2 separate regions of the Homo sapiens genome follow, and region 2 is linked to region 1. Evidence: promoter capture Hi-C in 16 types of primary human blood cells and fetal thymus (Javierre and others, 2016). All regions are on one chromosome and are shown on one strand. The core of a region is centred on a gene start or on the middle of the fragment in contact, and the rest is flanking DNA. Distances in the headings are between cores, read along the strand shown.

Region 1 (7,823 bases), core at 2,574-5,073:
TAAGTTTCCAATCCTGATATATTCTTCACCACCAAAATGCTACCAAATATATGCGGTATATCAAACAAACCAACTACCTAATGCATTAGATGACAAATTTGAATATTCTGTGCGATTTCACTTATGTACAGACATTTCATTCAGAAGAACATTGTGAACATGCTAGTTTACAGGCTTTGGCAGCTGCAGAGAACTTGTAAAGGAAAACATTCATTTAATAGATAAAAAAAAATCTGAAGGCATGGGAAGGGAGGCATCCACTCAAGATAAGCAAGGCAAGAGCCACGGCCAATGCTCTTTCCCAAGGGAATACTTAGAATGGCTCAAAGGGCTGAGACATGCCACACACCTGTTCCCGTCAGTGTGGTTAGAGTGCACACACTGCCTGGCTTCTGTTGGTGAGGGACAGGCATCTTCCTTAGCTCAGCTCTGCTGGACAAAGTCTCAGCTGATGGCTCAGGCTTGCCCCGGGGTGGATGTGGACTAAAGTCCCAATGCTGTCTTCTACCAGCCACTGCACCTGAGCAAGGCCCCCACACCCACCCCTTCCTCTGCACAGAAGAGTCAGAAGAGCAGAAAATGTACAGAGGACAGACAGAAAACATCATGGCCCTGGGGATGTCTTCTTTCCCCCCAGATGGGAAGGCTGTCTACAGGCTGTTGCCAAGCCACTGGATATTCCCCATCCTGTGATTATTTACATAAATGTGGATAGGCTGTGAAACCTCTGGACCCCATTTTTGCAGCACTAACGCTTGGCAACTTTTGTCCTGACATTTAATTTCTTAATTATATGCCATCAACTTCAAGTTACAATCCTTTTGATTAACCAGAACAATTCTAGGGCACGGGTCAGAACAGGAACAGCAGCCTCATAAGAACATTCATCCACGATGTGGGTTATCACTAGTTTCATGAAAAAAAAGGTTAGAGTTGGTATGCGGATACTAAAGGCTAAAATGAAAGAGGGGTTACTGGAAATGATAGTGCCAGAACCTCAGGGGTGTCTTTCAGATCTTCAGGCACCTGTGGTTTATGGTGTCTGCACCTGCATTCAGATGGTCACAGTTCTAGGGCCTTGGCTCAGGCCAGGACCATTGTGAGTCCTTTTCAATGCCAAGTAGCATAGGCCTGGCTTTCAAGGCAACTTTGATTGCATAATGGAACCGTGGAGGGCAACTGAAATGTTGGCACTGCCTTGTCTAACAAGCAGTGACTGTCCTTCATGCATGTGAACTCCTGAATCTTGTTTTAACCTGAGTAGGAAGAATCACAGCTGACTCGGATATCATCTTCAGCTTCCATTTCTGAAAACATAATCTGCCTTTTTTTCTCTGACTCACTTCAGAGACCCCACGTGAGGAGCAGCCTTGCTCAGGAAGAAAGCGTGGGTCAGGGCAATGACTTCATTTATTTACAACAAGTGAAGGGCTTGGGACTGCAATGGTGGCAGGCGAGGACTTGCTCAATGGATGTGCTGCTCCCGTAACATGTCTGAAAGGCACCAGTGTCCCTAACATCATAAAATAAAAGCACAGATGGTAACTTACCCAAAGTGACTGGATAAGTTCATGGAAATACAAAAGAGAAGGAGGTTTTTGATCATGATAAAACCAGAGAACATTCCATTGTCCATTCCCAATAAGAATAGTAGTTGAAGCAGGTGAATATGGAGGAATAACTCTTCCCTTCTCCAGCTTGTTCTTGAAGCTGAAAAGCACACAAAGCGGGGAAGCACGTGAACATCAATGCTGTTGTGTCACAGTTCCTGGAATCAAATCACACTGCTATCACAACAATTTGCAAAGAAAGGAGCCCGCTGTCCTTCCCCAGGACAGCTGCACACCAGGTATTTTCCATCACCCTCACTGGGCAGTAAGTTGGAGCATAAAAATAAGTAACAAGAGGCTTATTTTTACTTCTACTCAGGGTGCAGAATCACCCTAATTCGTTGTTTTCCACTCAAATACTCTGTTTTGTTTTTTAGCATGTTATCAAATAAACCATTAGTCCAATTATTAAAATAAACGCTGTAGTTATCTGAGCGACTGTATTTTGTATCCGTCAAATCCACAAGTGTAGTAATTTTACCTTTCTGAAATATCTGCCACGCCACGCGTTCAAAGCCAGCAAGCTACTCCTCTCTCTGCAAGGCACTGAGAAAGTACGTGGAAAGAAGTGGGGAAAAGCACATTTAAGAAACAGGTTTTCTGCAGGATCACAATACTGTGACAACTGCCTATAAAAGAGTGTGGCTACTTTCCCGGCATTCGGTCCCCGTGACTACATAACTTAAGCACTGCATCTGTGGAAGTCTCTCCACTCAATGCTGGACCCTAATTAATGTATTTGAGATCCAGGCAGACATTGTCCCTGGGCTCAACGACTAACCTTCCTGAAAACACGCATTTCTCAGTATGCGCATAACGCAAATAGGTGCTCACAGGCATCCGAACAGTATGCTTCGAAAAGAAGCATTTTCCCAAGAAGCCCCCCCAACCCCCATCCCCCGCAAACTCCGGAATTGGGAGACACAACAGGTACTTCCACCTCGGAAGCGAAGGCCTTCTGCGACTCCTGCCAAGAAGGGCAGGGTGCCATGCGGTGGTCGCCTGGGCGCGTCCGGGGGGCTCGTCGCGGGGCCCGGGCCAGAGCCAGGCGGCGAGCACGCGGCGCTGCATGCGGGAAACCCGGGCGGCGCCTCCCGCCGCCCCTCAGCCCCGAGCCAGGGACCCCCAGGAGAGGCTGCGCTCCCACGACCCTCCGGACCCCCACAGAGGCTCACCAGGGCCGGCGCGCCAGGGCAGGTGGGCGCGGGGGCTGCACTGCGGAGCCGCAGCCTGGGTCGCCCTGGCACCCGCGGTCGCCACCCGCGCGGTCCGCAGCGGCACGCCGAGGGTCTCCAGCTCCCCGGCCCTCCCCGGCTCGCTCCCGGCTTTCGCAGACTTCCCCTGCTCCTGCCCCGGGTACGAGCCAAGCGCTCCGCCAGGCAGCGCCTTCCTCCTGGGCTGGGAGCGCGCGGTGCAGCAGCGACTCCAAGTCCCCTGGCCTCGAGCAGCCCGCGCGACACGCGCGCGACACCCCCGCGGGGTCCGAGTCCACCCCGCGAGCAGCGCCGGGACGCCGCGCGCCTCAGAGCCCCGGGGCTGACGCTGGCTTTCCAGGTGGGCGATCTCACCCCTCCGGCTCCCGTGATGGTGGCAACGGGTGTCCCCCACCCCCAACCGGTCACCGCGCCCTGGTGCCCCGTCCGGCAGGGATGAGCCGCCCGGACCCCGCTCTCTCCCGCGCCCGGCTTCAGCCCCGCAGTCGCCAGGGTAAAGTTTGCGCTCTGGCCTGGCTGCGCGCCCCGCCTGCTCTGCACCTCTCCTCCCCGGCCACGCAGCCTGCCGCTCAGGCGCCCCGAGGAGAAGGGTGCGGACCGAGCCGGGGCGGCCGGTCCTCTTCCCCGCTCGCGTCCTCTTACCCCACTGCCCCGGCCCAGCGCGCCCAGGGCTCACCCTGCGCGCCGGCCCCGGGAGGCGAGCCGTCGGTGAGGATGCATCCTCCTTCTCCTCCGCCTGCTCTCGCCCGGCTGGCAGGCGCGGAAGGCCGGTGCGGCGTCACCGCCCCATGCTGCCAGCGCGAACTTCCCCGGCACTCCCGGCGGAGCGGCTCTTGCGCCCCGCGCTCCCGCCGCCGCCCTGCAGCTCCGCTCCGCGCCGCGCCCCGGGCCGCGCGCCGCCCGCCGCAGAGCCCCCCAGCGCCCCCGGCGCACTCGCGCCCGCTCTCACCTCGCCCGAGCGCCACATGTCGTCTCTGGGCTGGAGGATCGGCCCTCTGCAGAGGTGCTCCGGTAGAGGCCGCCAGACGCTCAGCAAATGCGCCCTTGGCCGAGCTGGGCGGAGGGGGAGGGCGCAGGGCCCCCGGCTCGGCCTGCAAGGGGAGAGGCCCTGTTCTGCTGAAGTTTCTCCAGGGCCCTCAACAGCATCTTCGGCGCCTCGTGTAGTCACCACCGCCCGCTTGTAGAGCAGGGATGGGAGGGCAGTGTCAGCAGTCGGGTGATAGAGGCCTGGACTCCGACAGCTTTGCTCCCTAGAGCCGGCCCCAACGCCTCCCTGCCCAGGCCTGGGTCCTTCCCGGGTGCTCCATGGCACCCCTTACATGCGCATCTCTTAGGCGCTTCTGAAAGAAGCTGGCCTGTGGACATTCTTTTCATCTCACTCATAGACAGGAATGCATAACTACGGGAGGGAAAGCCAGGGTCACATTGGACTCGATTAGAATGAAATCCTTACCTAACGCAGTGTATATCTGGGGGTTTTCTGAAGTTCCATTTCTTGACAACAAGCCGCAGTGGCAAACGGGAAAGGGCCAGGAGCCCTGGGGGCTGCAGGTCGGAGAGCGCCTCTGGGGTGACGGGGCGGGATCTCCCCAGCAGGGCTTCCGAGCCACGTCGGGTCACTGCCTCATTAGCCACGTACATGGGGTCTTACTATGGTCATTACGTCGGTGTGTCGTCCGTCCTAGTGGTGCAGTTCCTGGGAGGTGAGGGTGGCATTAATGACAACTGCGCGGCAGCAGGGCCCCTTCAAACAACACAAGTAAGAGCGCATCGTCTTGGGTTTGCCAGGTCTTGCTTCCTCAGGAGGTGGGGGACTCTCGACTATAACACCCAGTGGAAAACGTTCAAGACTCAAAGGAAAGCCACTGAAAACGTGATGGGGAGGTTTACTTACACCATTGTCCCATTCCTTTTGTGAAACTGCATTATTCATAATCTCTTTTAACAGAATAATGGTAAGTAAAGGCAAATTCCTAACTCCCCTCCAGGAAAGATCTTTGACCTTCCAGTGTAGGAAGCCTCTCATTTTTCCAGTTATCTCTAATACAGTGTATTCCAAATCTAAGTTACCTGTTAATACTTCTGCACATTCCAGAAATTCTGAAATTTTCTGAAAAACAAAACTTGTAAATCTATTCCAGGAATAGGACATAAATATACATAAATGTGCAAATATACAGGAAGTGTTTCTCTGAATATACATTTAGCCACACTATTAAATAACTGTTTCCAGTGGTTCTTCAGGAAATATGAATGAAATAAGATGCTAATTTGAATTTTCTAATTCTAAAATGGATCACTGAACGTATGCATTTCTTCATTTTCTAATTTCCCAAAAGATGTACCACTAGGGTGAAATTCCTTGGGAGACATTAAATTTTAAAAAGTTAACAACATGGTTTTATGATCAGCCTAATATAATTTTCACCTATTAGGTGTTGGAATTCTAACACCTAATACCAGCGACAGCTGCTCTTCTCTCAGGATTAAACAGCATAATGCAAATCAAAGAGTTGGAAGAATTGGTAAATTTTAAACTTCACAGCTTGTCACACAAAGTCATTCGGTGTGAGTTTGCAAAAATAAATGTATATAAACAAGGGATGATTTTTGTATTAGCGAGGGTTATAGACATTAATTCTTAATAATAAAAGAAATGTCAGCTGTAAGGAAATATGTTCTTTTGATGGATTATGTTTAAAACTTCCACTTTTTTTGGTACACTTTCTATCAGCTTTATGTCCACACAACACATATTATTGAATATATAAAAATCATTTTAAGTTAGAGTCATTCTTTAACATTGTATTTCAGCATGTTGCTTAAATTCTTTTCTCTTCCCTGTAATGAAACGGTATGCCACTCTCTCTCCTCCTAGTGTTTATGTAACATAACATAGCCTCACTTTAGATGGACTGCCCTGAGGGGACAGTGAAATCGTAAGGCCCATCAGAACCTTACAGAAACTCACATTGCTAGAAGAGTGCTTACTACCATTTCAATGATTTTTGTTTTACTATAGAATTCTGTATTTGTGCTGAGAAATAATAGGCTATCCGTTGAATTCCCATTTGTTTCATTAGCATTTTCTCTTCATTGAATGAAATTAAGCAATGTCGTGATCGTTGTGGAAGACAGTAGAGGGCACCCTAGTTCCACACAACCTCAGCCTTGGCCCGGGCTTCATAAGAATTTCATTTCCAGTGTCAGAGCCTAAAATAGCTGAAGGTGGGGAAGCTGGGCCATGAGTAGAACACGTGTTCACAGAGCACCCACCCTGTACCCCGGTCAGGGGCAGGAACTGAGACAGTGGCTGTGTTTGCGTGGTTGGGTGTGGTAAATGTGGCTGAGACATGAACACAGTGCCATGGTATAAGTGAGATCATGTGCTATTTGTCTTTCTGTGCTTGGCTTATTTCACCAAGCATGTTCTCCAGGTTCATCCATGTGGTCAAAAATGGCAGGATTTCCTTCTTTGTTAGGGCTAAATAATATACTGTCGTATATGTATGTTATACATATACGTGTGTGTGTGTGTGTGTGTGCGTGTGTGTGTGTACGTATCTCACAGTTTCTTTATTCATTTATCCATTGGCAGATGCTTAGGTTGTTCCATTATTTGGCTATTGTAAAAAATGCCAAAATGAACATGACAGTTCAGATCTCTCTTTCAGATACTGATTTTATTTCCTTTGACTATATCCCCAGAAAGGGGGTTACTGGGTATATAGTGGTTGCCACGGGCTGGGAGAAGGAGAGACGGGGAGATGTGGGTCAAAGGGTACAAAATTTCAGTTATGCAAGATGAATAAGTTCTGGGGATCTACTATACAACATTGTGACTACAGCTAACAACACTGCGATATATACTTCACACTTGCTAAGAGGGTAGATCTTATGGGTTCTCATCACACACACAAAAGAGGGCAGCTCTGCGAGGTGATGGAAATGTGAGTGCATGTGATTGTGGTGGTGAAGTATACATGTATCAGTCATCAAGCTGAACACCTCAGAAACCAGATTTTACATCAATGAATGGATGAATGAACAGATCTACATTTCTGGATTTAAAAAAATAAAAAGAGAAGACACCCCACAGCTTTAAAAACATGGGGCATCCGTTCCCACCCTCCTGCATCACCTCCATTCTACTGACACCTGACATGGGTCCTTAGAAGAACATGGTCTATTCTTTTTCACACTTTGCCTCCTTTATGTAACTAGGAAAATAGAGGCATATGGGGCTTTTAAAATGATACTAAATTTTTTTCTAATTTCATTGTATCTATTTTATCTTCTTTAGTGTTTTATTTATCATATCTCTATTTTGCCATATTTCATTTTATTTTGTGATGGCTCTAGGGTTTACAGCAGGCATCTTTAACTCATCATAACCTATCTTTTTTCTCTTTTCTTTTCTTTTTTTTTTTTTTTTTTTTTGCGACAGAGTCTTGCTCTCTTGCCCAGATTGGAATGTAGTGGTAAAATCTCAGCTCACTGCAACCTCGAACTCCTGTTCTCAAGTGATCCTCCCATCTTAACCTCTCAACTAGTTGGAACTATGGGCATGCACCATCACACCCAGCTAATTTTTGAATTTTTAGTAGAGACCAAGTCTCACTATGTTGCCCAGGCTTGTCTTGAACTCCTGGGTTCAAGGGATCCTCCCACCTCGGCCTCCCAAAGTGTTGGGATTACAGGCGCGAGCCACCATGCCCGGCCTACAGTCTAACTTTAATTAACATAATACCATTTCATGTACAGTGTAGTGCATGCAACTTACAATAATATACTTCTTTTTTTCTTCCTGTCCTATTCACTCCTGTTATCACACATATGACTTCTGCATTCAGTGACTTATATTTTACTTTAACAATCAATTTCTTTTTTTTTTGGTTTTTAGTTTGTGAATGTAGAATATGAAGGTGCCAACTCTTGTTGACATGTCCTTTCTTTTTAAAAAAACATTCAGTAGATTTAAGGACACAAGTTGTTTTTG
Region 2 (7,823 bases), core at 3,433-5,932, 3.2 Mb after region 1:
GTCTAGGCTCTCCCCTCTGTCCTGCTGAGTGGGTCGAGGGTGGGGCCACAAGTTTTCCTACGGGCGTTTGTCTCCAGTAGGGAAACTAGCCTCCGAAAGTTTTCTGTCTTGCTAGCTTTCTCCTTTCATGGTCTTTTGGCTAGTGATTGCAGGTTATTCAGGGGCCTTTTGTGTGTGGTCTCATAGGAGGGGATATTCATGGATTGGGAAGAAGACAATTTTAAGTGTGCCCGGAACAGAGTGAGTATCAGAGTTGAATAGGCTAGGATAAGGCAGCAGGTGTAAAAATCCAGAAAGCCGGCTGGGTGCGGTGGCTCACGCCTGTAATCCCAGCACTTTGGGAGGCCGAGGCGCGTGGATCACAAAGTCAGGAGATCAGACCATCCTGGCCAACACAGTGAAACCCCGTCTCTACTAAAAATGCAAAAAAAGTAGCCGGGCGTGGTGGCAGGCGCCTGTAGTCCCAGCTACCCGGGAGGCTGAGGCAGGAGAATGGCGTGAACCCGGGAGGCGGAGCTTGCAGTGAGCCGAGATCACGCCACTGCACTCCAGCCTGGGCAACAGAGCGAGACTCCGTCTCAAAAAAAAAAAAAAAAAATCCAGAAAGCCAAAATCTGCCTACAAAATGCCCATTATCAGTCCAATCTACCTGACGCCTTTTCTACTGAGCTTAATCTGCCTCCCCATGCATTTCCGTAAAGTAGGCAATGACAGCTATTATCATTACTTAGGCTTTTCTCTTTTGGATAGCTGCTTTATCCAACCTCCTATTCTCCAATTCACAATTGAATTGGAAACAGCGTGATCATCGGTAGAGAGTGTATTGGGGAAAAATATTCCATGCAGATATTGGATAAACAATTTTAAAATTTATTTTGCTGGTACTCAGACACCCATGCTTGTCAATTTTATGTTAGGAGACCAAACTTTTTTATCATTTAGGCAGAATCCAACTCCATCCTTCCCCATACCCCATTAATGAGTAATGCATTGGCCAGGCTTGGTGGCTCACGCCTGTAATCCCAGCACTTTGGGAGGCCGAGGCAGGTGGACCACTTGAGGTCAGGAGTTCGAGACCAGCCTGGTCAACATGGCGAAACCTTGTCTCTACTAAAAGTACAAAAATTAGCCCAGTGTGGTGACAAGCGCCTGTACACCCAGCTACTTGAGAGGCTGAGGCAGGAGAATCACTGGAACCCAGTAAACGGAGGTTGCAGTGAGCTGAGATGGCGCCACACGCCGCTGTACTCCCGTCTGGGCAATAGAGCAAGACTCTGTCTCAAAAAAAAAAAAAAAAAAAGCATTAAGTGTGTGTAGCATTCTCTATTGCTTCCCATTTCCACTCTTCCCACTTGATCCAGTCTCCTTCTTTGCTGATAGAGACTTGATTTGTAAGGATGTTTACTCTCCAATTTATTCATTAATCATAAATCCCTTCCTTCATCCAGGGTCAGCTTAATCATAATAAATTCAAGTATCACCCTCCATTCATGCACATGTGGCAAAATCTAGTCGGAAGGGTTTGTGGATATTTTCCTCCATAATAAAAGCATTGTTTTAAAAAGAGACGGCCAGGCATGGTGGCTCACGCCTGTAATCCCAGCACTTTGGGAGGCCGAGATGGGCAGATCACCTGAAGTCAAGTCAGGAGTTCGAGACCAGTCTGGCCAACATGGTGAAATCTCGTCTCTACTAAAAATACAAAAAATTTTCCAAGCGTGGTAGCAGATGCCTATAACCTCAGCTACTGGGGAGGCTGAGGCAGGAAAATCGCTTGAACCTGAAAGGCGGAGGTTGCAGCGAGCCGAGATTGTGCCAGCCACTACACTCCAGCCTGGGTGACAGAGCGAGACTCCACTAAAAAAAAAAGAGAGAGAGATTTGAAAATAGTTTGTCTTCAGCACTGACGCTCTAATATCTGCATGGGATTCCGGGAACTGCCCTAGTAAGCACACAGTCGTGAAAGAAACATCACCAAAAATCTCAGGAACAAAGGCAGAAACCACCCATGGCTTCAGTGATCCGGTTGAGCCACTGTATCAAGAAATCCTGGAATGGCCTACCTGTAGGGCATTTAAAAAGTAATTTTAGTTGGGTTGTATTTTACTTATAGCTACAAGCATCTGAATTGATCCCAAGCATTCCGCAGTCTGATTTGGGCAACAAGTTACGTGTTTCTCCTCCAAGTAGCCATAGATTCCTGGTTTCATGCACCAGCACCGCTTCTTTGACTTTTGGTAGAGTCCCCAGGTCAGGTGGGTGCTGGGGAGGCTCCAAGTAACCTCAAGACAAACATGAGATGGAATACCTCATCTCCCTAGTCAATTTTACTCAAATAGAAATTTTTTGAATGCAAAATACCGTGCAGAAACATATTACAATAACCAACGACCATAAATTACAATGAAACTTGATTCACTTCTGAATCACTATTTACTTTCAGCCCTTGTTTTCTTACATGGTATTTGGGACTCAGAGGCTTCATGGTTGCAGCAGGTGTAAGCATGCACACAGGATTTTTTTTAAACCCATCAGGGAACTAAGGTTACAGGGCAACCTGCCACCCTGAAATCCAGAGAGAAGGTTACTCCAGGGAGATACAGCATGTAAGACACAGAGAAAAAGCCACTGGGCACCCTAGGCTGGAGGAAGCCCTAAGAGCTCGCTTTAGACAGGAATACCGAAATCTCATCCCATCTTGGGGGAGGGAAGTGCACCCAGTCCAGCGTCACTCCAGCCTTCTTGTGTCATAAACTTGATGACCTAGATGAAATGAGGCAATTCTTTGAAAGACACCAACTGCCAAAACTCACTCAAGGAGAAATAGCTACCTAAAACACCAGCCCCCGATGCTTTCACTGGTGAATTCTACCAAATATATATATATATTTTTTTGAGATGGAGTCTCTCTGTGTCGCCCAGGCTGGAGTGCAGTGGCGCGATCTCGGCTCACTGCAAGCTCCGCCTCCCGGGTTCATGCCATTCTTCTGCCTCAGCCTCCCGAGTAGCTGGGACTACAGGCGCCTGCCACCATGCCCGGCTAATTTTTTGTATTTATTTTTATTAGAGACGGGGTTTCACTGTGTTAGCCAGGATGGTCTCGATCTCCTGACCTCGTGATCCACCCACCTCGGCCTCCCAAAGTGCTGGGATTACAGGCGTGAGCCACCACAACCCAGCCTCTACCAAATTTTTAAAAAGAAATAGTACAAATTAACACTTTTTTTTCTGGAAAGTTTGAGGTTGGAATACTGCTTAACTCATTTTATGAAGCTAGCATATTCATATGAACACTACCTGATTCATTTATGAAGCTAGCATTAACCAAAACCAGATAAAGACATTACCAAAAAAGGAGACTATGGAGAAATACCTCTGATTAATTGAGACACAAATCTCCCTAACATATTTTAACAAATCATATCCAGCAATATATAAGAGGAACAATATAATGTGACCAAATGGGGTTCATTCCAGGAAGGCAAGGCTGATTCAACATTTATAAATACTGATGTATATAATTTATCCTATTAACAGTATAAATAAGAAAAAATATGATCATGTCAATAGATGTAGAAGATATATTCAACAAAATTCAACACCCATTCATGATATACAGTCTTGAAAACTAGAAATAGCAGGGATCTTCCTTAACCTAATAAAGGGTTTATATGAAAAGTTTGCAGCTAATTTTATTCTAAATGACTAGAGAAAGAATGCTTTCCCTCTAAAATCAAGACCGCATGACATTGGTGAAAGAGTAGCCACATAGATCAATGGAGTAGAATAGAAAACTCATTAATGAATGAACACAAATATTGTCAATGGATTTGTGGCAAAGGTGCAAAGGCAATTCAGTGGTGAAAGAATACTTTTTTAACAAATGATGGTGGAAAAATTGGATGTCCGTATTCAAAAAGTGAACTTTGACACAGATCTCACATCTTACACAAAAAGTGACTCAAAGTGGATTATAGAACTAAATATAAAATGCAAAAGTACAAAACTCTTAGAGGAAAATATGGGATAAATTTTCATGGCTTTGAGTTTGTTGACAAATTTTTAGATATGATAAAAAATACAACCCACAAAAAAATTGATAAATTGGACTTTATTAAAATTATGTTTCCCTCTGTGAAATTAACTCTTGAGGGAATGAAGAAACAAGCTTCAACCTTGGAGGATATATTTGCACGTCACATATCTGATAAAGGACCTGTATCCAAAATACACAAAGAACTCTTACAATTCAGCAAATAAAAACAAATAACCAAACTCATAAATAAGCAAAAGAATACCTTATATAACATGTTCAAGACACCTGTAGATAGTGTACAGCAAGTCCTTGTTTTAGACTTTTTTCTTCATTATATTATTCACTATTTATACAATTCCCAAATAGGAGTGTCTAGGAGCTTTTCTCATGAAAAAGAGGGAAGTGATCTAAAATTACGAAACTGAAGCCTGAGACTAAGATTACACATTTTACACACATGCATATCACTATTTTTCATTCTAAAATGAGTGTTTTTCTATATCAGAGAAATTATATTCAATTCCATTTTGTAGGACTCTATAGCAGAGCCTCTCCGATATGAACCTGTTTAATTTGTATAATGTTGATAATTATTTTCCATTCACAATAACAACAACAAAGGCTTTTTACACTATATAGTTTTCAGCAACAAACTGCAGTCACTTCAGTGTCTAGCTCCGAGGTCTATGAAGTAGAGTTTATCGGGCCATCTAGTGGCCACTAGATCAACCAACAGTTTTTTGTATTTTCTGTTACTGTGAACAACTACAGGCTTCACTAAATTTACACTAAGTCTAAAAAAGCTAAAACTAGACCTCCCTGCAGACTGTCTACAACTGTCCTGAACATAACATAATTCATGACCCATATGTTTTGCTAATGTAACAATTGTATTGTATCTTTGTGGTATTGCACCTTACACGGGGCACCAGTTGAGGTATGGCGTCTTACCAGAGGGCATTAGCTGCGGGGGTTTGCCCGCAGACCCTGACCCAAAAGACGGATGAATAAAACGTACATTGACATACAGATACTTTGTTTCGCCAGTCCAGCTGAGCGTCCGACTGCCTGCACACCAGGAGAGGTTTGTCACTGCGGCTGGTCCTGAGCAGCTTGCACTTCAGGCATTTATTTAGTATACAATGAACAACAGAAGCTTTGAGTAAACACACTTGAGGATAATTAACATGGTTAAGAAAGTAGTTTTACAAATGATTAAAACTTAGGTACTACGGTTTAAAGTAAATACCATTAGGGGGCAATTTCCCTAGTTGACCTCCCCGCCCCTACCCCCACCCACAACCACCCAGAGGGCCATTTGGCTTAAAGATTAGTTAATGGAGGTAGGGTAAACAGAAGTAACTGGGGAATCCTCTATTGTTCCTAGTATTTACCCTATGACCTAGTGCTCTAAGGTAAGAACCGGCTGCCTTTAGCCTGTTCAATTATTACAAGCTATTTAAGCTTTTGGCCTTTCAAAAGATTTGTGATTATTTCCTATAACTTTCCCTAATATTCCCTTTAATATTTTTGCCATTATCCTAAGTGACTCACAACAGATCTTAATATAATTATTACATAAATGTATAATCCATATTTTTTAGACCTGATTAATTGAATGATTCAGTGGGATATATCAATTTTTCCTCTTTCCATTGTAATAAATCTTGTTTAAGTCACTAACATGTCTTGCCTGGAAGATTATTATCTCCTAACTGGTCCCTTGTCATCCTCTCTGGATTCTTAAAATTCATTCAACAAAGAGTAACTCAATCTTTTAAAGACCTGTGTATCATAGTAAGATCATGGATTTTCTCTGCTTAAAATTTTCCAATGAGGTTTCATCACAATTATAATGAAATGTGAACTCCTTTTCACTGTTTACACAGTCCTGTGGGATCTGGTCTCCACACTCCTCTTAAACTTCATTTCCTACCACTCTCCTCTCCATTCACTAGAAACCAGCTATATTATTTTTTGTCGTCGTTGTGTGTTGTTTCTTAAACACATTCTCCCAGACTTTGGGCTTTGGGTGTGTTGTTTGTCTAACTGGAATAATTGGTGCCCACATACCTACATGGGTTGCTTCTTCTCTAAAACCATGGGTGGTTGCAGACCAAATACCATGTCCTCAAAAATGTATTCCTTCTTAGTTACTCAGAAATTAAACACCAGCTGCAATCAAAGAAACTCGCAAATCTCAGTGGCTTAGTTATATATTACATTATATTAATCATGTAAACTTCAGTATGGGTAAAGGGGAGTGAAGACTGAGAAGTTCTGTTCCATGAACCATTCAAGGACTCACTCGGGCACCGATCCTTTTATGACTTGGCTCTCTTCCTGGTTCTCAGAATCCATGCCGTTCACCTGTCAGAGAAAGTAAAAGAGTGTGGAGGATTATGTCAGAGATTTTTATAAACTGTATTTGGGAGTGGAGTACTTTATTTCTACCTATATTAGTTGGAATTCAGTCACATGACCTCAACTAACTGCAGCTAGGGATGGTATATGTGGGGCAGCTGTGTGCCCAAGAGAAAACAGGATTTGATGCGATCACAGCGTTCTCCTCTGCCATGGTAGCCCTTGTGTTTATCAAATATCCACTTTACACTTCCTTTTAAATGTTGAACACACTCTCCCTAGAGGAGACAATCCAAAATTCACCTACGTATTGAATCCAGCTCAAAGTTCAGGATTTCAGAATTATACTCAGCCTTCTCCACCAAGTTCTGCCGTGGTTTGTCAAGGTCAGGGACCCAGGAACTAAAAAGATAAGTTATGTTTCAAACAGCCAATAGGGGGAAGCAAAAAATAACCATAATGAGAATTCTCGTTTGGAAACGAAAAGGAGGCACATTACCGTTATGGACTCACAGGAATTACGGAATCTTGCTGGTACTTGATGATGTGTCTGTGAAGCAAGTGGGAATTAGTATTCCAGAAGAGCAAATACATGGGATAGAATTTTAGTTGCCACCTTTTCAGGTAAGATGGGATAGAAATGGAGTCCCTGAAATAAGAAGTATGTTTCTGTACATTTCAATACTGAACCAAGAAAGGACATGTGGCTTGATGATACGTTGAAATATTTATCTGGGTGTTTCACATTTTTCCTCTCCCTCTTCCCATGTGTACTCTGAGGGTCAGACCACTTGCAGACATGAGTCACCTACTTTGAAGGAGCAACCAGAACTCTGACTCCAAAGAGTAAAACTTGATAACGGAAAAGACAGTGAAAAGAAATATTCTGTTTCACACTTACAGAGTTAGTTTTAAAATGGTCCTAAGAGGTGAAGAGAACATGCTGATGGAAGAAAGAACGGAATGGATAAAATTTGATCTCGAGAGGTGAGGTTAAAGCTGAGGTTGATGGTAGGATACAAATGGATGTTCTTTTACAGCACAAATCATTTTTATAGCAGGATCCTGACTCAGTGCTCAGGTCTGTTTCTCCTGGAACTTTCTCTTGGGAGAAGTCAACCCATCAGCCATTGAGCATCTTATGCTTATCTGTCCTTCCTTGTTTGTATCCAATGATTCTGGACACTTGTAGATAATTCTAGGACCAAGGGTGAGTTATTTGAATACAGTGGGAGATGATAGCAGAATAAGCACCTAGTCACAGTCAGTTTAGAATGACTCTTATAGAAAGTAGACTCTGATTCAGCATGAAGAAAAATCTATAAAGCAAATGGAAAACAAAAAAGGGGCAGGGTTGCTATTCTTCTTTCAGATAAAACAGTCTTTAAAACAGCAATGATCATGAAACACAAAGAAGGGCATT

Evidence for each region. The method cuts DNA at HindIII sites, captures the fragments that hold promoters and counts their contacts. A CHiCAGO score of 5 or more calls a contact.
Region 2: a contact is called between a fragment that was not itself captured here and the fragment with the promoter of GABRA5 in region 1, in 2 of 17 cell types (M2 macrophages and M0 macrophages). The highest score is 7.4, in M2 macrophages.

What each region holds. Positions count from the first base shown.
Region 1 is chr15:26,863,062-26,870,884 of GRCh38, reverse strand. GABRA5 (gamma-aminobutyric acid type A receptor subunit alpha5) reads right to left here and starts at 3,823. Exons shown (of 11, transcript NM_000810.4): 1 at 3,774-3,823; 2 at 2,092-2,156; 3 at 1,551-1,710. The coding sequence starts at 1,636. The HindIII fragment of the contact is 16,322 bases long and covers 1-7,823 here.
Region 2 is chr15:23,626,349-23,634,171 of GRCh38, reverse strand. LOC124903576 (a long non-coding RNA gene) reads right to left here and starts at 6,546. Exons shown (of 2, transcript XR_007064789.1): 1 at 5,055-6,546; 2 at 4,097-4,216. RefSeq lists an enhancer at 4,858-5,379. The HindIII fragment of the contact is 1,024 bases long and covers 4,171-5,194 here.